Linked DNA regions of Homo sapiens: regions 1, 3, 4, 5, 6 and 7 are each linked to region 2. Evidence: promoter capture Hi-C in 16 types of primary human blood cells and fetal thymus (Javierre and others, 2016). All regions are on one chromosome and are shown on one strand. The core of a region is centred on a gene start or on the middle of the fragment in contact, and the rest is flanking DNA. Distances in the headings are between cores, read along the strand shown.

Region 1 (3,461 bases), core at 373-2,872, 510 kb before region 2:
ACCCAGATATCAGTTATATCACAAGAAATATTTCCTGGTTATGCCCTTAATCTGTTGCATCCAAATTTATTCAAGAGTTACATGATGAAGAGCAAACAAAACACATAATTCTTTTGCTAAAGTGGAGGATGCATTCCAAGGACATACTTCTTGGTTTGACAGTTCATTTCTAGAGGCAGAAATATTGCAGGCAATCATCAGATGTAGCCCAAGGCAGCAGACAAGGGTTTATCTTGCAAACATCATGAAATACTTTATAAATTAGGCAATTTCAGTCTGCAAGAGATAAAGACATACTCAGCTTGTCTCAGTGGAGGTCTATCAGTTAGGATTCTTAATATTGCATGTGACAAAAGACCTAACTCAAGCTGCATTAAACAACAAAGAGGACGTATTGGCTTCATAACTGAAAAGTCTAGACACAGGACGTCCTTCTTCGGGAAAGGCATGATTCTGTGGCCTACTGATGTACCAGCGGACAAGTTCCTCTCTGTGGTTTACTTGCCAGCCATGCATTTCTTTGACCTTAGGTTGCACAAGGTCATTCAGGTTCTCCTTTCATGGAAACAAAAGGGCTGCAGCCACCCCACCCTCTCATCCTCATAACCCCTGAGCTAGAGAAGAGAGCATTTTTCTTCCAGAATCTTCTGCAGTGAGTCTCAAACCTGACTGATGAGCAGAATCACACGACAAGCTGATTTCTAGAGTCCCATGCCAGCATCTCCACCCAAACTTGGTGTATCTGGTATATGGCCTGAGAATCTTCAATTATTGAATATCCTTTACAGAAAACTCTAAAGGAGAAACCAAAATTGTCCCATAACTCCACCTTTCAGATGACACTTACTGAAGTTCTCCACTAAAACTAATCAATGCACAAAGTAGGAAGTAGGAAAATCAAGCAGTACTGAATGAAAGGTAAGAACCTCTCTTCTCATCCTTCCCTCAAAGTTGCCACTGTTATCAGCTTCTTGTAGATTTTCCATTGAAAAAGAATTTGTGCATTTACCAAAGTATATGGTGTGTCATTTTAAAAGTTATGTGGAAAATGGATTACACCATTTATACTGCTCTGCTGCTTGATTTTTTCATTGCACAACATAACTCAGAGACTGCTCTATATCAGCAAATGGAGTTCCTACTAAATCTCTTTAAAAGATCTAAGAGTGTGCCACAGTTTATTTATCCAGGTTCCTATTGATGGACATTGAGGTTGTTTGCTATACAAATAATGCTGCTGTGGGCATCCATTCTTGCCGACGTTGATACTCTTCTGTGGGAAATTTCAGAATCAGCTCCCATCAGTAGAATTGCTGGGTCAAAGGTTACTCATGTTTTAAAAATGTTGATGTATGTTGACAAAATTCCTTTAGTTGAAATTTACTAGTCTGGTCTCTATTACCATTTCGAACTTCACAAATTGTGCCCTTAGTTACACGCGGGTGCCTTATGGCAGTATGGGATGGGGGCGCAGAGAATCTATGTTTTTAAAAGTTCATCATGTGATTCAGAAGCTCATGCAGGTGTGAGAACCACCGCCCCACCTTGTCACACAGGTGCCAAAATCCACCAAGTTTGCATTCACTGGCATCTGCTTCCATACTCTCATCAGCAATGGGCATCATGAAACTTTATAATTTTTGCTAATCAGATTCATGAAAAGTGGTCTGGCATTGTTCTGATTTGCGTCTCTTTATTTCTGAGGAAGGATGAGCAGCTCTTCATATGTTTCTTGGTCACTGGTATTTCTTTTCCATGTTCTGCCAGTTCAGATTCCTGGCCCAGCATTTATTGAGTTGTTTGTATATTTCTTATTTATAGACATTTGTTGCAAATTAAAGAAATTAGTGTGTCTTCCATCTATATTCCAAATACTGTTTTCCCCTTGTTTATAATTTCTTCTGACTGATTCATGAGTTTGTTTGTTTGTTTAGCTTTACAGAAGGATTTTGCTTCATTCTGTTTTAATATGGTGATATTTTTAAATCTTTGGTCTTTATGGTTTCTGGAGGAATCAAGTTTTTAAAACTCCCCAGGTGATTCTGATGAGTTTGAGAGTCACTGTCTTACAGGATATAAATAAGGAACCGAATACAGTCCCTACCCTTTGGGGTTTACAACTGTATGGGAGAAAGACGAGCTTATACATAAAAGAGAACAAGAGATAAAGGGCACTGCGAAGTTTCAAATGAGCCATGCAGATTCTTGGCTTGGCATCAAGAGCCTGCCCACTCCACGCTCCTCTCCTCAGCACCCTTTCCTCTCAGATCCTCGTGGAGGTGAGTGGGAGATCCCATCAGGCAGCAGAAGGCAGAGAAAAGCCAGCCACACAGTGGAGGGGAGGTGGCCAGGCCAGGGCGGCAGCGTAGAACAGTGGAAGCGAAGCCTTCAGGCCCGAGAGAACAGGCTCCTGGTCTCAGAGTGCTCTTAGAGGCCATCGTCCCCCTCCTACCTCCAGGGCCCGGGAGGCCTGGCTGCAGGGGTGGCCCTGCCCTCTTCTGGACAAGCCATGAGGTAGAGTCCTTTCCTCCTCTATCTTGCCCAACCTTAGAAAATCAAGTAAATAAATAAAAGGAACACTTGAGTCAGTTTTTGCTTTGTTCCATTAGAAATTCTGAGAAAAGCTAGATTTCCATGGGCTTCAGTGGGGAGAGGAGAGCATAAAGTTTCATGAAGGGAACCAAGCAGAGTTCCAGCATGGGGCCTCTGGAGGGAAGGAACTGGTTCTCACTCAACCCTGTTTCCCTCACAGCTTCTAGAACAGGGTCCTAGATTAGATATACTGCGTCCTGAATGAATGAATCAATCAATGGGAATGTATTCGAGCTGGGCGTGGAAAGACTAAGGATAAGGACCATTTCTTTATTTTCCTAGTGAACAAGAGTGCCTGATACACAGTAAGTACCTAATAGTGTTGATGTTATCAGGGGAGGTGAGGATGATGGTGTGAGCAAAGGTGCAACATTAAGAACACAAAAATCACATTCACAGGACAGTGAGGGTAGCTTATTTCATGAAAGATTCTGTGAAGAAATTAGACACAGAAAAACAAGTTGGGAGCCTCAAATGCCAGGTAAGGAAGGTGGAGTTCTATCTGTCTACAGGTAGAGTCACTGATGACTGTGTTCAGGCCACGACATGGTTAAAATCAGTGTTTTAGGAAGACTTGTTTGGTGGCATAAAGCAGGATGGATTAGAAGTTAGAAGGAAATTCAAAAACACATTTGCTCATTATCTTCTTCTTCAAAAAATGTAGTCATATTCAGTACATTAAAATAATCCAATAATATTGATTCAATTATGAATCCAATATCTGATTATGAAACATAATAATAAACCCACCATCCCACGTGAGACCTAGAGCCTTGCCAATACTACCAAAGATGCCTGTGCCTGATACCCTTTGGTTTGGGTGTGATTTCTACACAAATCCATTGGATTGACTTTCTTCCCTCCATCTG
Region 2 (3,344 bases), core at 340-2,839:
TTGCAGACAACGTTTTAAAAAATACAATTCAGTTTGGTGATGTTGTTTTGCAGTCTTACAATTTTAGCTACATTTTAACTGAACCAATTGTTTTGTTCAATTTATGAGTTAATACTCAGCAAGTTTGTTTTTTACAAATAGTGTATTCCATTCTAAAAATGGAAGTAGCAGTGGTGAACAAGAAAACAACCCTCTGAGTTTTGTCTATTTCAGGAGGAAGTACTACTTTCTCCAATTTTAATCACAATTCATAAAAAAGAAAAACCTAACTAGCTAGATCTTAAATATACAAATACATTAACAATCTAGTAAAGCAACAGAAAAAGGTAAACAAACTAACCAGCCTATTTTTGTCTGGAGAAACCCCAACAAACTGCTGGATTCCTTGGCCATTTGCATTCAGAAGTACCAAAAACTAAAATCCTTTTTACTAAATAATTTCTTCTACACGAGACTTGTTTCCTCCACACCACCCTATCCAAATTGTCAGCATTATTCCAGAATATAATCATTTAGTTTGAGACCACTAAAAAACCCCGCAGTCCAAAATACCAATTGTGGTTTTTCTGTAAAGAAATGGTCAGAAACTACAAATTGTTATCCTAGGACACAGAACCAATCGACCAAAAGGACTTCTGGAATATGCTGCCCCCAAGATTTAGAATGCACAGGCAGAAATAGCATACGCGGTCACGATGTCCCTTAAGCCACATGACCTTCCTACGAAAGCAAAGGCTTAAACTTATCAAATGAGAACTCCCCCTTTCTCTGAAGTTAAAACAAGGCAGGGCAGCTGGAATTAGAGCAGCAGGGACAGATCGGCTGTTGACTAGTCAGAACGGGTCGTGGAATGCAAAGTCCCTGCGCTTTCGCTGCTCCCCTTACCGTGAGAAGATCTGGGAGGGAGGAAAGGAGGAGAAACACCCCAGAATCCTGGTAGAAAAGCCCCTGGCCTCGAAGATGGGCTCTAGGGAGACAGGGAGGGGCAGCTCCGTGTGTGATGACCCTTTGTGAACATGCACTCTGTGGCAGCTTCAGCTCCACCGAGGCTTTGGGAGAGCGGACTACGGATGCCCGGCGCGGCCCAGCTGTGAAGGCCGCGCCGGCGGAGAGGGTCCATGGCACCCCCGCCGGCTTCGGAAGCCCTTCCCTCTCCCACCTCCGCGGGTCACCCCAGGAACCAGCGGCTCCCGACCACGCTCGCGCGGACCACGGAACAGCGACGCGCAAGCAGGTCTCTTTCGTCAGCGTAATCCCTCCGCAGAAAGCCGCGCACTAGTTTTAATCACGCCCCACCCCCTGGCCGCTGGCGCCACCTCCGCCACTCGGGCGCTTTCCAGCAGCTTCCAGAAACGTCGCCTCCCCAAACCCAGCCACTCACACATGGCGGGCTCAGCAGCCACCGGCCCCGCCCCTCCTCGTCGCCGCAGTCGCAACTGCGTCTGCGGCCACAGGGCGGACAGCCACGCCTCTGCGGAGGGCGACCGGAAGTGCTCACGTCTTCACCTTCCCCGCCACGCCACCGTCCTTTCAGGCCCAGCGTGCAGCAGGAAGGAGGACTCTTTTGCCGCGGACTCAAGCCGGAAGCCGCCTTCCTAGTGGAGACGCGAGTGGGGGAGGAGCAGTCCGAGGGGAACGTGGGTTGAACGTTGCAACTAGGGTGGAGATCAAGCTGGAACAGGAGTTCCGATCGACCCGGTACCAAGAAGGGGAGTGCCCGCGGCAGGTAAGGGAGAAGAGGGAGGGGTTTCTTTCCGCTCTCGAAATTGGGAAAAGAGACAGAGCTGGGATGACCTATGGGGTAGTCGGCGCGCTGAAAGGATGGGCTGGGCTGGGACGGGGTTCAAGTGGGAAAGGTTGATGATTAAGGTATAGAGTTGGACTTACAGATCCGTTTGGGCGCAGAGAGGTGAACGCTGAAGAGAAACCAGAGTTTGTTTTCGTTTTCCAAGGAGCGTGGAGATGGGCAGGGTTAACGGACCCTGCGCCTCCTTCGGCTTCTTAGTTTGGGTGTTGAAACTCACCTCCTTTGGTCCTGTTCGTCTCTGATTCAAGACAGTTGGGTTTGGTACCTGACAGGGCTGGGTGCAGAAAGCTGACCCTGTTCCTCGGCTTCCAGGTCGGTTGTGGCCTCGCTTTTGACAGTTCACGTGCCGAGCCTACTCGCTCTCGGAGGGCGAGCTCAAATGGGTGGGTTTAAGGCCCCCTCTTCGAACAGCTGTTTCCCTGGGTTTCTCCATTTTGCACACAGGAGTGTGAATTAAGTTTAATTGAATACTTTTTGCGATTCCCAGGGCCACCTTGACACGTTCATTGTGCTATCTAACTGGGTTCATGCTGGGCTAATAATTCACATTAAGGCTTCTGGAGTATAAGTGGTTCACAGAAGTATGAAAAGGGGATGTTAGAAGAAAGATGCTGGGGGTGAAGTAGAGTTGAGGAAGACAGAACTGGAAAGCTAGGTTGGTTTCACAGTACAATGAGCTTTAGGTCATAATACTACCTTTAGGTTATATTGGGCTGTTTGGACGGAGTTTGCTGTAATCAGGCTAGAGTAAATAGAGAATTTTAAACTAAGCATTGACAGGCTCAGACTTGTAGAGGCATCATTTTGACAGTGATATGGAAGGGAAAGAGGTAGAGATTTGAGACCTTTCCAAAGAACTGTCCACAGAATTTGGTGACTTACTGTGCGAAGAGGGAAATAAAGAATAGGGAACAACTCAAGACTTTCTAGTCTGTGTGTTTGGAAGGATGGAGACGCCCACATTTAAGTGAGATATGGGAAGGAGGAGCAGATTGTTTTTGAAGGGAGGAAGAGCAGTTACTTAGGGTCAAATTAAGTTGTAAAATCCCCCCCGGGATTTTGTATGTAAGTCAAAGTGAATTGTATTTGGAAGAAGAACTGGGGAGCCCACCTCTGGTATTTTTTTTATGTCCCTCATATGGACAAATAAACCTCTGGTATTAAATGAATTTTCTTTTGGGGGATTCTATATATTCGGGATTTCAACCACCAACCTATCTGGTTTTTCCCGCTGAAATGTTGGGTGATGGAATCAGGAGAGCAGATTTGGAGACTCTTTATATTTTATAATTGAGAGAGACAAAGAGAAAACCGTTTGATTTGAAAAAGTTTTCTAGGTTCCCTCAGGTAGATGGAAATTTTCATCAAAAACAGTTTATTCAAGGTACATAGCCTACTAGTTTCCCATTTGAGAGTACCGCAGAATGATACGACGTGTACTGCTTCTCTACGCAGAATGAAGTATAAAATTAGCACCAAATAGTAACTTTAATTTGTCAGGTGCTAAACTTTTTACATGCTTTATCTCATTTAATTC
Region 3 (3,520 bases), core at 935-3,434, 660 kb before region 2:
AGTTCTCTGGGAAGTATGGGGGTTTTCCATGACTAGAATGAATCCATGGTTTTCTTAAGAAAAAAATCTAAAGAAATACAACATAAAGCATGCAAGGAGTCTATGCATTTCATGGCAATCTTAGCTCGTTCTGGGAAACAACTGTTGTTAGTAAAGCCTCATACGATGCATTCATTCAGCCATTCAACAAATATTAATTAGGAATTGACTTCTTCCACAGTTTGTGCTTGGTACTAGGTAAAATTAAAAAAGAAGCAGAGCCTGTAATCCTAGCACTTTGGGAAGCTGAGGCCAGGGGATCACCTGAGATTAGGAGTTCGAGACTAGCCTAGCCAACAATGCAAAACTCCATCTCCACTAAAAAAAAAATACAAAAATTGACCAGGCATGGTGGCAGGTGCCTATAATCCCAGCTACTCAGGAGGCTGAGGCAGGAGAATCACTTGAACCCTTGATGGGGTGGTGGGGGAGAGGTTGCAGTGAGCTGAGATTGCACCACTTCACTCCAGGCTGGGCGAAAGAGCAGAACTCTGTCTCAAAAAAAAAAAAAAAAAAAAAAAGCAGAGATGTTGTCTCAACCCAAGCTGGGCTGCTGAAACTGAGGACCTTACATTCCAGTGGGCAGGCACCGGGTACAGAGGTAGAGCTTGGGTTCCAGTGACAAGCCAGAAACTAGCTTGGGATGACTCTGAAGAATACCCTTACGTCAATATAGCTGGTATTGTACCAACACATTTAGGTCCAGAAATTGATTGCGCAATGGCATAACGGGGGAGATCTGCTTTAATTGCCATCAGTTCTGTTTTCAAAATATCTGGACTTTTTCTTCGGCCAAAAGCTCATGTGATCCAACAGAGTAATGCAGTCGCTTTAAAAAGCGAATGTAATTGTAAGCTCCATTAAATAAAAATACCGTGTCCAGATAATAAGTAACAGTAACACTATATGCTGGTCAGATGATAATTGGAAAATAATGTTCGCTACAAGGCATTATAATTAAGATGTCTCATTTAGAAAGGCAGGGTGGAGGTGCTGAGGGCTTTAGAAACGGTTCCTGATCTAGGCTGGCCGGAGGCTCTGAGTGTGTTTAGCTTGGAAGAGAGAAAACAAGGAACTATCTTCCTGTCTTCAAATATTGGAGGAGGTGTTGTGAGGACGAAGGAATAAATCGGTTTTATTTTAGGACAAGACAGAAGAGGAGCAAAGAGTGAGTAAATGTCAAGGGAAAGACAGAGGAAGTAAATAAGGAAGGAAGTGGCAAGGAGGTTGATTTTGAGTTCAATAGACGAAAACAACTTGCTGAAAAAAGCTTTCTAACAAACTAAAGTGCTCAGAATTGGAAATGGCACTCTCCAACAATGGAGAGGTCACTGTCACTTCTCAGAATGTAAGCTACATGGTCATTTGTCAAGGACCTTGAGTTCCAGCATCAGGTAGAATGTTAGCTGTCTAAGTTCTCATTCATCTACAGGACACGGGGCTTCTGCGATGGGCCGGGCTTGTCCTGCGGAGACTGTCGCCAAGGCAGGAAGTGGAACACAAGTACGTGGGCTCCTTGAGCAAAGTGCTGTTAAACAGATGGGACACTCTAGATGCATTAGTTAAAGCCAAGCATGTTTCTAGACACTTCTAGAGAAGGAAACTTTCCCTAACGTCACAGCGGGGTCGGGGGTAAAATGGGCGGGTCTTCGTGAGAAGTGAGCTCCTTCTATGACAGGTATGAAAGAGAAAGCTCGCTGGTTCCAGGTGACAGCTCCCATCGAAAATTCCAGGAGCTGCTCTGGAGGAAATGGTGCTGAGATTTGCAAAGGGCAAAGAACAAATGATGCAAGAGACGGAGGAAATATGGACTCGGCCCAAACACAGTCCCGTCAGGGGCCGTCTGTGGGAATGTGCCGCTGTTCTTGTGCTATTTCAGCGCAAAATATTTAGGAAATAGAGAGACACACAGAATGGCAATTCAAACTGATTCATCTACCTGATTTAAAAAAATAAAATATTGCTTCAGCTTAGTCCAAAATGTAACACATGGAGGTATAACCTTTTAGTTAAAAAATCATTCTTTTTCTTACCATACTGAGAGATCTTTGCCGGTAGAGAAAATGTCCTGTTTATTTTGGTATCCCTAGAGTTTAACATAGAGTCTACATATAGCAAAAGTTTCAATAAACATTTAGTATACCAAACAGAAATGTGATTTTTGGATGGCAGAGGGGTTGAGATATCTGGGCAAGAACAAAGTGTGATTTTCACTTTCTCTGGTCTTCTGTTGTCCCAGCAAAACCTCCCTCTGCTCCAAGGACAGCAGGATGCCCTGAGCTCTTGGTTGCAGCACAGCGTCCTCTAGCCCCCTCCATGGCACCCTCAGCTGACTTACTCACTCATGCATTCAGCAAATGTCCTTTGAGCCCCTACCATGTGCTAGGCTCCATGCCAGGGCTGGGTTATAGTGACAGAAAGACCAGTAGGATCCCTGCTTCCTGCAACTCTTCCTCTGAGTCTGCATTGGTGGGAGTGATGGCATTGGGAGTTGAGTACCTGGCATCAATTAAACAGAAAAAAAAAGTTTCTTTTAAAAATTTCCAATGGAGATGTGAAAGTATATATATATATTTTTTGAGACGGAGTTTCACTCTTGTTTCCCAGGCTGGAGTGCAGTGGTGTGATCTTGGCTCACTGTAACCTCTACCTCCTGGGTTCAAGTGATTCTCCTGCCTCAGCCTCCCAAGTCACTAGGATTACAGGTGCCCACCACTATGCCCGGCTAAGTTTTTTTATTTTTAGTAGAGATGGGGTTTCACCATGTTGGCCAGGCTGGTCTCGAACTCCTGACCTCAGGTTTTATCCACCCACCTCAGCCTCCCAAAGTGCTGGGATTACAGACATGAGCCACCTGGCCCGGCTGTGAAAATATTTTTTTAAAGAACTCTATTCGATAACCTCTGTGATTTGGTATTTATTTGATCCCAAAACATATCCAGATAACAAGTATAAACACAAACAAACAAACAAAAAACACTATGCCCAGAAATACTGATCAATCAGAAGAGGAGTTGATCCAAGCTTTAAGCACTTTTTTTATGTTAAAAAAGTCAGGTGCGGTGTCTCACGCCTGTAATCCTAGCACTTTGGGAGGCCGAGGTGGGTGGATCACCTGAGGTCAGGAGTTCAAGACCAGCCTGACCAACATGGTGAAATCCTGTCTCTCCTAAAAACACCAAAAATTAGCTGGGCATAGTGGTGTACACCTGTAATCCCAGCTACTCAGGAGGCTGAGACAGGAGAATCACTTGAACCCAGGAGGTGGATGTTGCAGTGAGCTGAGATTGTGCCATTGCACTCCAGCCTGGGCAACAGAGCAAAACTCCATCTCAAAAAAAAAAAAAAAAAAAAAAGTAAAATGAGTACAGTCAAACACCATTCACACTTGACTTGACCAAAGCCAGTATGATAAATATGAATTGTTCTCAGCTACCAAGCGTTGAGAGGATCACTCTCTACACCTGCTGCCTGCATGGCC
Region 4 (3,500 bases), core at 393-2,892, 520 kb after region 2:
TAAACTGCAAAATTCGTTAGTTTTGTCTTCATCCTATCCCTAAAACTATATAAAACTTGGGATGAGAAAGAATTATGGCCATTTATCTACTAGAAATATAGATATCAGGGCCAAGAAACTAAACATATTTCAAAATAAAAATATTTAATTGAAGTACTTACCTCTGTCTCAATATACATGTTAAGAAGGTCTTTCCCTAACTGCCAGACCAAGTTGGCTTCAATAGGCAGCTCAACATTCACCACCTTTATTTTGGGCTTTTTAGCTTCTGGAGGCTGGTCAACTTTTTTTTCATTTGCCTTGGGAAGAGGAATAAAAAAAGGAAAAAATTTTAAACAACCCACTTGGAAAAACACAAAAAAAATGTCCTCATACTTACTGATGACTTGGGCAAAAATAAAATCTCTAAAAATCATAAAGTTGGAAGGATCTACAGGATCACCTAATTCCCACTATTTTAAATCAGGGCTGCTATTAAATATGCCATACCTTCCTTCAGGAATTCACTGGGATATTTTTCTCTTCTATATTGAACAATCTCTCCTGCTAAAGCTTTTCTTCGCAAGTCTTTACTTTCTAAGCCCTTTAAATATTCTTGTAAATCCCATGAGTCAAAAAGTGAAAATTACTAAATTATCTTTATAGACTCTAGAACCTGTCACCTAAGGATAAGCTTCGACCAGTACAAAACACGTTAGGATCATCTTAATTCCTGTAATATTAAAGGCCCTATATGCCAGTATGCCTGCTTTAATTACAACTAGCACTATGCTGATGAGTGCCTTTTAAAATTTCCTTATTGAACTTGGAGTACATATATATATACTCCATACACATACATACACACACACACACACACACACACACACATTATTACTATCCACCTTTGAATTGTATCATTTCTCATAAGCAACTTTGCAAGGTAAAAAGAGATGAGTCTTAAAGTAGCAAATGGACTGATGTGACACATGCCAATCATTTATGTAGGTTTTTCAAAATATGTAAATACAGGGCTAAAGAAGTAAGTATCTCCTGTGGCCTTCAATTTTCCAAGCCTTTGCTATGCATTTCCATTTCTGCAGGTTCCTACTAATACAAAAATGACAAAGAACACAACTGAGCAGACTCAGTTGTATGACAGATCAGATGACAACCACAGTGTGTAACATGTATCCTGTAGGTAGGATGGTAAAACGGGAAGAGACTGGCCCATGAGGCACAATAATCATAGCCATAGATAATTTTGAGGAGTTACAATGGATTAAAAATCTTAGGCACTTTATCGAAGAAACTGGGTCTAGAAAGTTCAATGACTTGCCTAAAATTAAAGAGATGGAATTAGATCCCACGTTCCAGAGACTGATCTCAGTGTTCCTTAGAAATCACCTATCAAGTGCCATAAGCTGTATCACTACGGATGAGCTAGGCAGTCAGCCTACAGTCCTCCCCACATCATTTTCCTGCTAGTGCACACAATCCTTCAATACATTATGCATGCTCTGAGGGCATGAGCCACAGGAAAGAAAAATGAATCCAATCAAACATACACCTAGGAAGACACTGGAGAGCAACAGATGTTGGGAAACAAATGGATAACAGCACATGTACGGAAGTTAAATGAAGACAAGACAACCTGATAGTACCCAATTAAACCAACTACTGACAAAACCAGCATCACAAAATGGCATTTCAACATGGAATGGATGAGGAACCGTCTCCAAAGGGGTGAGTAATCATGCTCCAAAAGGTTTGAGACTAGTGGTCCTACCTACAACTAAGGAGCATGAATGAGATCCTACCCAATGTCATGTTCTAGACAGGTACTAAGACTATCGGCAAGAGTTGATGTGTATGCTCATCCCAAGTCAAGGAGTGTGCTGTTGAAACTAAGCATCTATTTTTCCAAATAACCACCATCATCACACAACTTAACAGTAGAAAACAGAGAGCAGCTTTCAGAAATCAGAGTCAGGACCCATAGCTCACATTGGGAGCCCCCAGGATCAATGAGGGGACAGAAAAATTAAAAACTGGAAACTTTTACATAGTATAGAAACCTATCCTGACCCAATGAAAGATTCTGTAATTTGCCTGAGGATAAAAAACTCTACCCTCAGAATATAAGAGAAACCAAACAACCAAGAGCAGGCTAATTATTTACATGTAACTTGTACAGAAAATAAAGTTCTACAAAACATACGGTGATTCATAGTTAACAACAGAAATTTTTCAATATCCTTCTGACCATGAATCTTAAAGGTTTGATTACAAACTGTCATTTTCCAAGGCACACAACATCACTATTTAAGTTAGCTTCCAATACCTACTGTGGAAGCAGGACAAAAAAATAATTACCTTGAAGTGCAATCTGGTTATTACCAGATCACCATAATTAATTTACTTAAATTTGACCGATGGCTTGAGAGGAGAAAGTTTACTAGACTCCTATAGCCCATATATTTATCATCTGATTAGTTCAAGTGAAAACTAATCATGTAGCCCTGGTAAATATCAAGTTCTGCCTTTGGTATTAGAAGATACCTCTGCTCTTTGAAAGACAACGAACAGTATACATTAGTCTCTTGTTACTTCGAGTGGCAGTTAATCAAGAGAAGCTTTTAAAAGTTTAAAGCAGGACATTCAATTCCCTTAATTGAGCTTGAATACCTCTAACTGGTTTTAGTTGAAAAATACATAGAAAATCAACAGAAAAAAATCCTACACAGAACGAAATCAATTGGTGCTTGCTCTTGAAACTGCAATTTAATGATATCATTAATGATTACACTTTGCAACATTGTCTAATGGAATGAACTAGAAGAGTCACTCACTTTGTCAGCATCTGGGATTTTGTTTTCTTCTGAGGTAAGTTCAGGTGAAGGGGGAGACTGTGAGGTTTGTTGAGCATCAGTTTGTACCTGGGGCTGTGTTCCAGCTTCACTGTTGTCTTGCTGGACATTTTTCTGAAATGAAAGCCCAGGCACAAAGGATGTAGAAAGCAGGTGTACTTGTATAAATTTTTAAAGTTAAAGGGCACCAAAGAAAGTACACTCAATTTCTGAAATCTTAACAGGTGGGGAGAAAAGGTACTGGATAAAAACAAAATGAACAAAGTACTTGAAAACTTCTGTAGAAATTCTAAACCTGTAAAAAAATTCTTTGAATGACAGTAGTTAATATCGTTAAATAACACAAGTAAGCATTTAATTGATGTGATGACAATCAAGAATCAAGAACTCTCCCTTAGGAAGCTCATCTAAGTTAGTACAGATATTAATTCTCTAAGGCACTGGAAATAGATTACTCCAGGCCTCTTTCCTAGAAACAAGCTTCCAAAACCTATTTTACCAGCAGCCATCATGGATCTCAACATATCTCCATTTCAATTTACTAAACAGTTACATAAAATGGCCAATTATCAGTTATTTCGGGATTCATCACTTCAGCTTATAGACAGCCAAGACTCACTCTGTCCCCACTTTCTGTGATCCAGCTATTTA
Region 5 (3,294 bases), core at 181-2,680, 850 kb before region 2:
TGTCTAAGCTCTATGTATGACCTGGTACCTCGCATATACACATCTGAAGCTGTGTCATTACTGGGTCCCCTATTTTCCTTCTATTCCAGAGCTTATTTTTGAGATGTCCCCACTCATCTTCCTTTTAAATGAACACAGCATCATCCACATTTTCTCTGGCCTTTTCATAAGCTACTTCCATAAAGTTTAGAGTATACGTTGATGCCCAGCACTTTATTTCCAACATAAGGCCTTCTGACAGGTTTGCTAGCTTGCATGAGTTCTCAGACAAATCAGTGCTCTAAATATTTATTTTAAAATAAACCTTACAACCCTCTAAACTATGTGTTAATTTTTATAAATGAAAAAACTGAAGCTCAGATATTAAGTAACTTCTTCAAAATCACCCAGAACAAAGTCAGGCTTGACTCCAAAGCCCAGCTATTCTTGTGGTTTTCTGAACTCTGAGGACTGACGAACAGCATCAGTCAAAATGTAGATGTGTTAAAATTATCAGACTTAAAAAAAAATGCTCCTGAGAAACACTGGGGGAGTGGCACCCTAATGGAACCCAGGTGAGTGATGCCCACGGAAAACCATGTGGTAAGGAAGGACATAAGGGGAAACAGGTTCCAGCATGCAGGGAAGAAGAAAAACTATCTCGTCTGGCAGACAACTGAGAACTGGCCAACTCCCAGATGTCTTCCTGTATGTTCCTACAAGAATTCTGAGGGTCCCACTCTGCTGCGGCTTGTCCCGGTTCCCCTCCAGGTTCTGCTGCCTCCTTGTATTATTTAACTATAGCAAAGTTTCTCCCACTTCATTGTAAGACTTCCCTTACATCAAATAAGCTTCAAGAACATGTGTAGAAAATAAAAGATACCAAATAATGTTTGAATGTGTAATTACTACATTCTAAAACCAGCCAGACTCTTCTAAGACTTCTAACAACAAACCACTTCCAGAGCCATTTTAGAAAATGTGTTTACCCAACTCCTTTTTTATTGGTTGACTCACGTGGAAGAGATGGGCATTTCCTTTCCCCAAATGGGAATTTACTATGCCTACTCCATATTTCTTGAAAGCTGTCATTTTGAAAAAGAGGAATATGAAAAATATTAAAAGACAAACATCTGACATCACTGTCGAAGACTATAAAATAATGTAGTAAGTGAAATTGGTTTTCACATTTCAGTACTGCTTTAAACTCTGATATTTAAGAACTAAGTGTTTCTCATTTAGTTCTATCCATGATCTCTTTCAGAAGTCAACCACCTCCTGTGTAAAAGCCTCATAGAAGCCACTGCCTTCTGAAGGAAACACACCAACTGGCAGGGGGTCAGGGTAAGCCAGGAGTCACACCCAACTACCACTGCTCACACCCAAGAACCCCACCCTACCCTGGCCACAAAAACTGTGCCTAGACTCCAGCACAGCCTGCAGCTGTGTTTCAATTATAGCTGTGTTTGTAATTATAGGTCATGTGCCTTCTCCCCCACCCCAATCACTCCACCCCAATCACTCCATTTGGCTAACAAGTGACCATATTATAACACAAAAATGGAAAACAAACTGGAATGCTCGAAAAAGTTACAAATAAAAACGGTATGAAGGCATATTAAATTTTGGCTGATACTTCCCTTTGATTTTGCTAAACTATAGCAAAGGCTGGCTCAATGTTGATTTTTACTGAAGAGTATCATTAACTGAAGAAAGAAAAAAAGACATAAACAGTAGTGAAATAAAGAATAGGCAAATACACCAGAATTATGAATAGAAGCCATTTTAAAGAAGAGAAATATTCTACAACAGATGAAGAAAGTTTTAATTTCTTTTCACATTAAACATTGTTTACCACAATCAGCTAACAGAAATTACTGTAACATTGGTCACGATGACTTCATAAAACTAAAGATAAATGTTATGAGGAAACTTCATTTAACGTGAATGGTAATGTTAGATACTGTATTTTTCCATGGTAAAATACAACTTATCTTGAAGAGAAAGCAAATAGTTCAGATCAGGGAGACATGCTGAGGTTTTAATAAAGAAAAGCTTGGCCTTGTCCAGAACACTTAACAAAGTTCAGGACAATTTAGGTAAAAGAGATGAGTGAGACACCAGCGTTAGGCAGGGACATAGGCTCATCATTCAGGCTTTATGTACATTACTGGATCTATGCAGCTCTCACCTTTAGATAAGTGAGCTATATTTTTGGCAGAGGGATCTTCAAAAGTAGCCTTGGATATGAGGAATCGTATTTTAACCACCAGGCAGTCCAAGGAATTATTTTTAAAGGGACAGCTGAGTATTTCACGTATATACTATTAAGGCATCTAAATTTTTGGTGTTTTCAGTATATAATTTTACTGCTACTTTTTATTCTTTTTTTTCATATTGTACAACTATGATATTAGGTATTAAGCGACGTAATTCTTTCTCTACTAGTGAACCAGTTTATTTCACTTAGCAAACTCTAAATTGAGGGAAATATATAATCTGAGAACACACAGAAAAATATATTGAAAAACCAATAGAGAATTATTTTTAACCATCATAAAAACTCAATCTTAATTAACTGATAGTCTTTAACTTAAAAAAAGAGTAATCAGAATGAAAATAGGTATTAAAAATAATTACCAGTAGTTTGTTTTACAAAATAGAGCCATAAATTGTTTAATTGCCCAATTAAGCAACTACCAGATTCTTTAGTCAACACTAACAGAATTCACATTTCAGCTAGTCAACAAAGCATATAAATATTTAACATCTCTTGAAGATAACATTTTAGTGATAACGGAGACTACATAATTCTATCCATTGTTGTGACTGTCCACAAATTAACCAGGTTAAATATCAAAGATACATTGGGAATACTCCCCAAAACAACAACAGAATATTAATTAAATGAATTTTAAAAGCTTAAGAAATGAAAGTAGAAAACATGAATGAGACGGTGCTTAAACAATTATTGACCTAATCAAGACCTTTAAAATTACCACCAAAATGCACTATCATTTTTTTTTTATTTAGTTTACAGGAAGAATCTGTAAGTACAGGTTGCAGAAAGAAAACGTTTAGTGCTATTTACATTCATTTTAAAACTCTGCTCTATACAAATTTAATTCTGATCAGTATGAACAATATTTTCGTAGATCTACTGCATATAAAGCCTTTTCATCAAAGCATTAACAATGAATAAAATAACATGATTACATTTAAACAACGCTGACCATTTGAAACCATTTACATTTAATGTTTGTAAGGGCTGTTGACACTTAGTACAGAATGTAATGTCAGCCTGCAACTTCATTT
Region 6 (3,414 bases), core at 524-3,023, 840 kb before region 2:
AACTTTGAGTTCCACTTGAATAAGTTCAAGAAGTAGTCTGCAAGAATGATTACACTCTACGAAAGTACCACCTTGTTTATTTCCTATAGCAAATCAGTAATGAGCAATTCTTCAAGCAAGGAACCTAACATCTATGCAACACAATATGAATTTCAGTCCTCACAGATACATTACTACTCATGGTTTTCTCTTAATGTATGAATAACAAATACATATTACCCTATGAACTTATACGGAATATTTAAGGTTCTTCAGTCATTAATGCCCAAGAAATTCTGCCCCTAGTAGTTCAGCCACTTGTGTTTAACTAGAAAAAATATAATTAAATTCAAGCTTTCTAATTAAGAGTTATGCAAATTATGTGAACTTAATACTTCTTAAAATTTTTTAAGCTTAAAATTAATTTCCATTGGGCTTTTACTCAAATTATAATATTTAAAAATGATGAAAGGAAATAGATTTAGTCTTTAGGATCTGTAAAGGTGACACCAAAGCCTACTTTTGATTTTCCCTGATGTCTATCAATATGGAAATGGGAAAATAAATGATAGTATATCCTTACCATGGAAATCCATGCAGCTGTTAAACGACATGAGATAAAGACCTGTATGATCTGACATGAACAGATAGCCACAATATATTAAGTGAGAGAAAGCAGCCAGGTATAAAACAGTATTGTGGGAACAACAGAACACATGCCTATTTGCTATGGACTGACTCGCATCTCCCCAAAATCTGTATTGAAGTTTTACCTCCCAAAGTGACTGTGTCTGGAGGATAGGGTAATTAAAGTTAAAGTGAGATCGTAAGGGTGAGGTCCTCGTCTGTACCACAGCGGCCTTATAAGAAGAGAAAGAGCTCGGCTCCTATGCTCTCTCCCTCTTCTCTTCCTGCCCTCCAGGTGGGGAGAGCAAGAAGGCAATGGTATTTTGCCTGTCTACTGTATTTTGCTGTGGCAGCCTAAGTTGAATAATACACACAAAGAAAAATATAAACCAGGCGCGGTGGCTCACGCCTGTAATCCCAGCACTTTGGGAGGCCAAGGCGGGAGGATCACAAGATCAGGAGATCGAGACCATCCTGGCTAACACAGTGAAACCCCGTCTCTACTAAAAACACAAAAAATTAGCCAGGCATGGTGGCGGGCACCTGTAGTCCCAGCTACTCGGGAGGCTGAGGCAGGAGAATGGCGTGAACCTGGGAGGTGGAGCTTGCAGTGAGCCAAGATTGTGCCACTGCACTCCAGCCTGGGCGACAGAGCGAGACTCTGTCTCAAAAAAAAAAAAAAATATATATATATATATATATATATGTGTGTGTGTGTGTGTATATATATATAATAAGTTATATATATATATATAGCAAATAAGAAATGTGAGGCTCCCTTTAAAACGGGAAGCAGCTTTTGATAAAATAGAAACTGATTGGTGAGAAGGTTGACAAAAAAATCAACAAAAACTAAAAACTAAATTACTTGGATCTAAAAACATCTTGTTTATTCAAGTTTCGTTATAAATTCCTTTGCTGTGCTATAACAGGCTACGAAATATAGAATATTCATGGGTTGCTAAACAAGTAACCTGTTTACTAATAAGGTTGAGAAAAGGTATAACTAAGACTACATTTACCTATCCTACCTATCCTATATTTTCTATCTTCAGTGACAAATTTTTCTACTTTGTTTTCCTGTCATTCCATATAAAGAGATCAGGACTCTCTTGCTGCCAAAATGTTTTATTACAGCAACTTGGTTTCTTGCCTCTCTGGTACAGCAGTTTGTAAGTTTATAACTTTGAATTAAATAAAAGTGCTAGCCAGGCGCGGTGGCTCACGCCTGTAATCCCAGCACTTTGCGAGGCTGAGTCAAGTGGATCACCTGAGGTCAGGAGTTCGAGACCAGCCTGGCCAACCTGGTGAAACCCGGTCTCTAATAAAAATACAAAATATTAGCAGAGCATGGTGATGCGCGCTTGTAGTCCCGGCTACTTGGGAGGCTGAGGCAGGAGAATCACTTGAACCCCAGAGGCAGAGGTTGCAGTGAGCCGAGATCACACTACTGCACTCCAGCCTGGGCAACAAGAGCAAAACTCTGCCTCAAAATAAATAAATAAATAAATAGTGCTTCTGACAGTTTAAAACCCTAAAATACAAAGCAGAACTCTGGTTATATTTCAATAGCATGGATGTGTATATCTCACACATATATATGTACAAACTAAAGTCTTGAAGGATATGTACCAAATATAACAGTCCTTATTTCATCTTTAGTTTCTTCATGTATTCCTGCATTTTCTAATTTTCACATTAAGTCTGTATTACTTTTAAAATAGAGTAACATTTAATTCAAAGAGTACTCAATCATTTCAGGATATTCCTAATAAACTATTAATATTTTAAAAAGTTAACGCTATCAAGTACTGTATCGGTATGGGCTTTCAAAGAAATATAAATGATTTTCTTAAGTAGACAAATAAGCATATCAATTGTAATAAATACCGCTCTGGTGGGGGAACGCTGATAATAGGGGAGGCCGTGCATGCATGGGGGAAAAATGTAAATGGGAAATCTCTGCCACCTTCTCAATTTTGCTGTGAACCTAGAACTGCTCTAAAAAATGAAGTTGGCCAGGTGCAGTAGCTCACGGCTGTAATCTCAGCACTTTGGGAGACTGAAGCAGGAGGACAGCTTGAGGCCAGGAGTTTGAGACCAGCCTAGGCAACAAATTGCGACCCTGTCTCTACAAAAAATTAAAAAAAAAAAAAAAAAAAAAAAGCCAGGTGTGGTGGCACATGCCTATAGTACTAGCTACTCTGGAGGCTGAGGCAGGAGGATTACTTGCACCCAGAGTTCGAGGCTGTGGGGATACAGTGCAATGATCATGCCATTGCACTCCAGCCTGGGTGACAGAATGAGACCCCATCTCTAAAAAAAAAAATAAAATAAACATAAATCAACAAAGCCTACTTTTTATAGAAAACATTAAGCACAGAAATATAGAAATACAACATTTAAAAATAAAGTTATAAGATATTCATGGATCCTTTGAAGACTATTCATTGAACCTAAGACCTTCTGTTCTAGATGTCCTTGTTCTAGATGTTCTAGATAATGTTCAATTATCTTTGAACATTCCCAATCTCTTTTTTTCCACTCACAAGCTTAAAAGCTTGTGAGAGGAAAACCAAACCAAACCAAAACAAGACAAAACAAGACACACATACTGTACTCCATAAATTTAACTGGGTTCCTGCCACAAAATTCTCAGCATTTCCTAATTTAAAACTAACACACATCACAGTTGCCAATAAACTGATATTACACTTTCATATTTCAAAAATCAATGGTCTAAAGAGTTCATATTTATCTAGATGTTCAGAATGTTGGAAACTCATAGCCTCTAAATATGTTTGAACC
Region 7 (3,211 bases), core at 143-2,642, 800 kb before region 2:
AGGTGTGATAAGAGTATTATGGTTGTTTTAAAAATAATCACTATATATTACATATCTGGGAATATTTATGAAAGATGTGGAATTTGATTCAAAATAATTTAGAAGGAGCAAGTAGAGCAAGTACAAATACAGATAAAACATTACTGTCTATGAGGTGACAACTGTTGAAGCTGAGATATGGATACATGGAAGTTTTATTATAATATTCTCTCTACTTCTGTATGTTTGAAATTTTTCATGAAAGTTAAAATAAAAGTGCTTAGAAAATCCCACCTAAGTGACTCTCTAAATATAATCTGAGAGAGTTAAACCCCATGTTTAGCTTTGGGACAGAAAAGGAGAACTATGAAGCGTAAAACGAAAGGCAAAGGCCAAGTAAGGTGATTTTGTTGCATTTACCCTTAACCACATCAAGGCTATCCATATCAGAAATCCTGGGATAAAGAAAGATGCTCAGAGTTCAAAAGAAACAGTTACCTGTGAATACAACATTTGGCCAAGTCCATAAACTAAGGAGATTGTTACAATGGTACTTCTACAAAGCTGGAAAAAAATTAACCTACCAATCACAGGACTAGAAGATTTAATACAATAAAGCAGTTATACTTTCTGTAATAGAACCTATATAATTACTGCTTACTTATGATAATGAATTAAAATACTAGGATACTGCAAAGTATGTAGCTTTCTTTTTATGAGCATTTTTCAAAAATAAAATTTCTTCTACCAGAAAAGACATCACTTTTTTTAAAAAAGGTAAAAGTTAGAAGAGAACCATATTTCCAAGTTGGAGAGAAATGATTTAGAAAGAATCCAAGGACCACACCACCGCCCCCACCCCCAAGAATTAATGATAAAGATTCATTAACGTCAAAGGGCTGATTTCAAGACCTGAGACCTCTATCACAGGAGATAATTCAAGGACAATAATCCTTTTTCCCCAATCCCTACCCCCAAAACTTTTCTATAGACAACTGCAAAGATAAAATGTCAACCATTTCAAAAACGTAAAAGGTTCTACAAATAAGCTTTATAGGATGATTTATGGTGTTCCCATAAGCCTAACAATGTTTCTTAACTTATTCCAACATATGGCTTTTTCTTTCTTTTCTGGAAAGAAGCTTCTCTAATGAAGTCCTAATAGTAGTATGCGAGTGACCCTGAAAAGAAAGATGTATCAGAAATTAGAATCCCACTGAGAGGCCCTCAGAGTTCCTTTTTTTTTTTTTTTTTTTTTTTGAGATGGAGTCTTGCTCTGTCACCCAGGCTGGAGAGCTCAGTGGCTCGATCTCGGCTCACTGCAACCTCTGCCTCCCAGGTTCAAGCAATTCTCTTGCCTCAGCCTCCCAAGTATCTGGGACAACAGGCATGTGCCATCATGCCCAGCTAATTTTTGCATTTTTGTAGAGATGGGGTTTCACCACGTTGGCCAGGCTGGTCTTGAACTCCTGACCTCAGGTGATCCGCCTGCCTCGGCCTCCCAAAGTGCTGAGATTACAGGAGTGAGCCACCATGCCTGGCCTGAAGTCCTCAGACTTTTTATAGTAACTCAGAATGAACTCTGAGTTTAGGATACTCCCCAGATTCCTTGCGATCCTGGAGTTTATTTTTCACTCATGGTTCCTATATTTGAAATAGTATTAAACATTTAAAAACTATTATATCAAGCTTTTTTCTCCCTTGAGTTATCATCCACTACATTTCTGTCCTTTCATTCTAATGAATTAACTATAGACATTGCTTAAATCAACATATTAGGTTCTGACCATGAGAAAAACAGTAAACATAACTACATTCTAAAGTTACTGAAGTCAACCCTTCAGCTTATTTGCTATTATTTGTTAAATGACTGTTGTCTTTTTGTTCTATAATCTTACCACATGCATATATAAAATGAACTGCCTTATTTCTAATATATATAGTATTTAATAGCAGAGTATGCCTTCCCAGAATTCTGGGAATAACAGACTGTCACATGATAGGCTCTGGAAACAGAATGCCAGGGTTTGAATCCTGGCTCCACCAGTTACCAGAAAACTGCTTTAAAATCTCCATGTTTCAGCTTCCTTATCTGTAAAATGGGGATAATAATAATACCTACCTAATAGCATTGTAGGGAAATTTTACTGAGTAAACATGTGTGAAGCATAAAACAGTGCCCACCTGGGCACTCAATAGATGCCAGCAACTGGTATTTCACTATTAAAAAATAACACAAAGAAGAAGCTTACTAAGTACCAAAAAAGCTTTGTTAAAAAAAAGACTATGAAATCTGAGCAGTGTTTCAATATATTTATACTTTTTTAACCTATTACTTATAGGTTATATATGTGTTTGATTTATTACACTAAACTCATCACAAAGAAAATACCCTTCTTGTAATATAGCAAAGCTGTGTATACATACCAGGACTAAACTTAAATTTGTCTTTATTTTTTACAGCTGTACTGCGTCATGTCATAGTAATCACAACTCTTGGGTAACTAGTCAAATTGCTCAGGAAGCCAGATGTAATACCTTTTGCAGACATTTATTGGTAAATCTAACTTTAAAACCTCTAAAGTAAGATCGGGCTACTACTGCATTCCAGATACTAAATGTCACTGGAACATGAAGACATTCTCATTTCCAAAAGAACATGCTAACTTCTTTGGTTGAGCTTTCTAACACTTTGTATGTGTATCATTTATTCATTACATACGTACTCCACAGGTAGCAAAGTTTAGTTTTTAGCCAATAAAAATCTTTTATTTGCTTTATATTCTCTAGTACGAGACCATATGAAAATTTTTTACTAATTTTCTGTAAGTTTACTTTTGTCTTGTTCCATTGATTTCGTACAGAAATACAAAATATGAATTATCTGACTGCACATAAATCCCCAAAACAGAATCATCAACACAGTGGCTCTCAAGGAACATAGATGAAATTAAAAACAATTTTATGAGTAATTGCTAGGTGATTACAACTAGTCCTAAAGCTCTTTGTTAAATTAAATTACCTGAATTAGAAGATCCAGAAACTTGCTCTCATTCAGTACTTTTGAGAAAGTGTTGATGTTCTTAATTCTGATATAATTAACAATACCACCACTGGAATATGCTGCCTTGGTTGAATATATATGGTAGGGAAACTATCTTATAAATTAGCAGACATTGAACTCAATGAACTTTATGCAAATGTGATTTCTGAAAAGATAAATGTATGTGTA

What was found. Contacts are between HindIII fragments. The CHiCAGO score rates a contact against its expected background, and 5 or more counts as called.
Region 1: a fragment that was not itself captured here is called in contact with the fragment with the promoter of USPL1 in region 2 in 1 of 17 cell types (neutrophils); the score reaches 5.1 in neutrophils.
Region 3: a fragment that was not itself captured here is called in contact with the fragment with the promoter of USPL1 in region 2 in 3 of 17 cell types (naive CD4 T cells, non-activated CD4 T cells and total CD4 T cells); the score reaches 5.7 in naive CD4 T cells.
Region 4: a fragment that was not itself captured here is called in contact with the fragment with the promoter of USPL1 in region 2 in 1 of 17 cell types (endothelial precursors); the score reaches 5.2 in endothelial precursors.
Region 5: a fragment that was not itself captured here is called in contact with the fragment with the promoter of USPL1 in region 2 in 1 of 17 cell types (naive CD4 T cells); the score reaches 7.5 in naive CD4 T cells.
Region 6: a fragment that was not itself captured here is called in contact with the fragment with the promoter of USPL1 in region 2 in 1 of 17 cell types (naive CD4 T cells); the score reaches 6.8 in naive CD4 T cells.
Region 7: a contact is called between a fragment that was not itself captured here and the fragment with the promoter of USPL1 in region 2, in 1 of 17 cell types (total B cells). The highest score is 5.2, in total B cells.

What each region holds. Positions count from the first base shown.
Region 1 is chr13:30,103,150-30,106,610 of GRCh38, forward strand. It overlaps LINC00365 (long intergenic non-protein coding RNA 365), which reads right to left. Exons shown (of 2, transcript NR_046998.1): 2 at 29-2,546. Among named protein-coding and RNA genes, the nearest start is that of LINC00365, 4.0 kb to the right of the region's middle. The HindIII fragment of the contact is 8,986 bases long and covers 1-3,461 here.
Region 2 is chr13:30,616,331-30,619,674 of GRCh38, forward strand. USPL1 (ubiquitin specific peptidase like 1) reads left to right here and starts at 1,590. Exons shown (of 9, transcript NM_005800.5): 1 at 1,590-1,726. It also overlaps a transcript of HMGB1 not described here. RefSeq lists enhancers at 988-1,057, 1,078-1,217, 1,268-1,597, 1,618-1,667. The HindIII fragment of the contact is 4,577 bases long and covers 1-3,344 here.
Region 3 is chr13:29,953,026-29,956,545 of GRCh38, forward strand. No RefSeq gene overlaps it. Among named protein-coding and RNA genes, the nearest start is that of LINC00544, 18 kb to the left of the region's middle. The HindIII fragment of the contact is 1,754 bases long and covers 1,308-3,061 here.
Region 4 is chr13:31,140,961-31,144,460 of GRCh38, forward strand. HSPH1 (heat shock protein family H (Hsp110) member 1) reads right to left here. Exons shown (of 18, transcript NM_006644.4): 12 at 2,832-2,963; 13 at 162-299. Among named protein-coding and RNA genes, the nearest start is that of HSPH1, 19 kb to the right of the region's middle. The HindIII fragment of the contact is 1,942 bases long and covers 672-2,613 here.
Region 5 is chr13:29,762,625-29,765,918 of GRCh38, forward strand. It overlaps UBL3 (ubiquitin like 3), which reads right to left. Exons shown (of 5, transcript NM_007106.4): 5 at 1,747-3,294. Among named protein-coding and RNA genes, the nearest start is that of UBL3, 86 kb to the right of the region's middle. The HindIII fragment of the contact is 1,204 bases long and covers 829-2,032 here.
Region 6 is chr13:29,779,080-29,782,493 of GRCh38, forward strand. All of the region lies in intron 1 of UBL3 (ubiquitin like 3), which reads right to left. Among named protein-coding and RNA genes, the nearest start is that of UBL3, 70 kb to the right of the region's middle. The HindIII fragment of the contact is 2,766 bases long and covers 391-3,156 here.
Region 7 is chr13:29,818,954-29,822,164 of GRCh38, forward strand. All of the region lies in intron 1 of UBL3 (ubiquitin like 3), which reads right to left. Among named protein-coding and RNA genes, the nearest start is that of UBL3, 30 kb to the right of the region's middle. The HindIII fragment of the contact is 547 bases long and covers 1,120-1,666 here.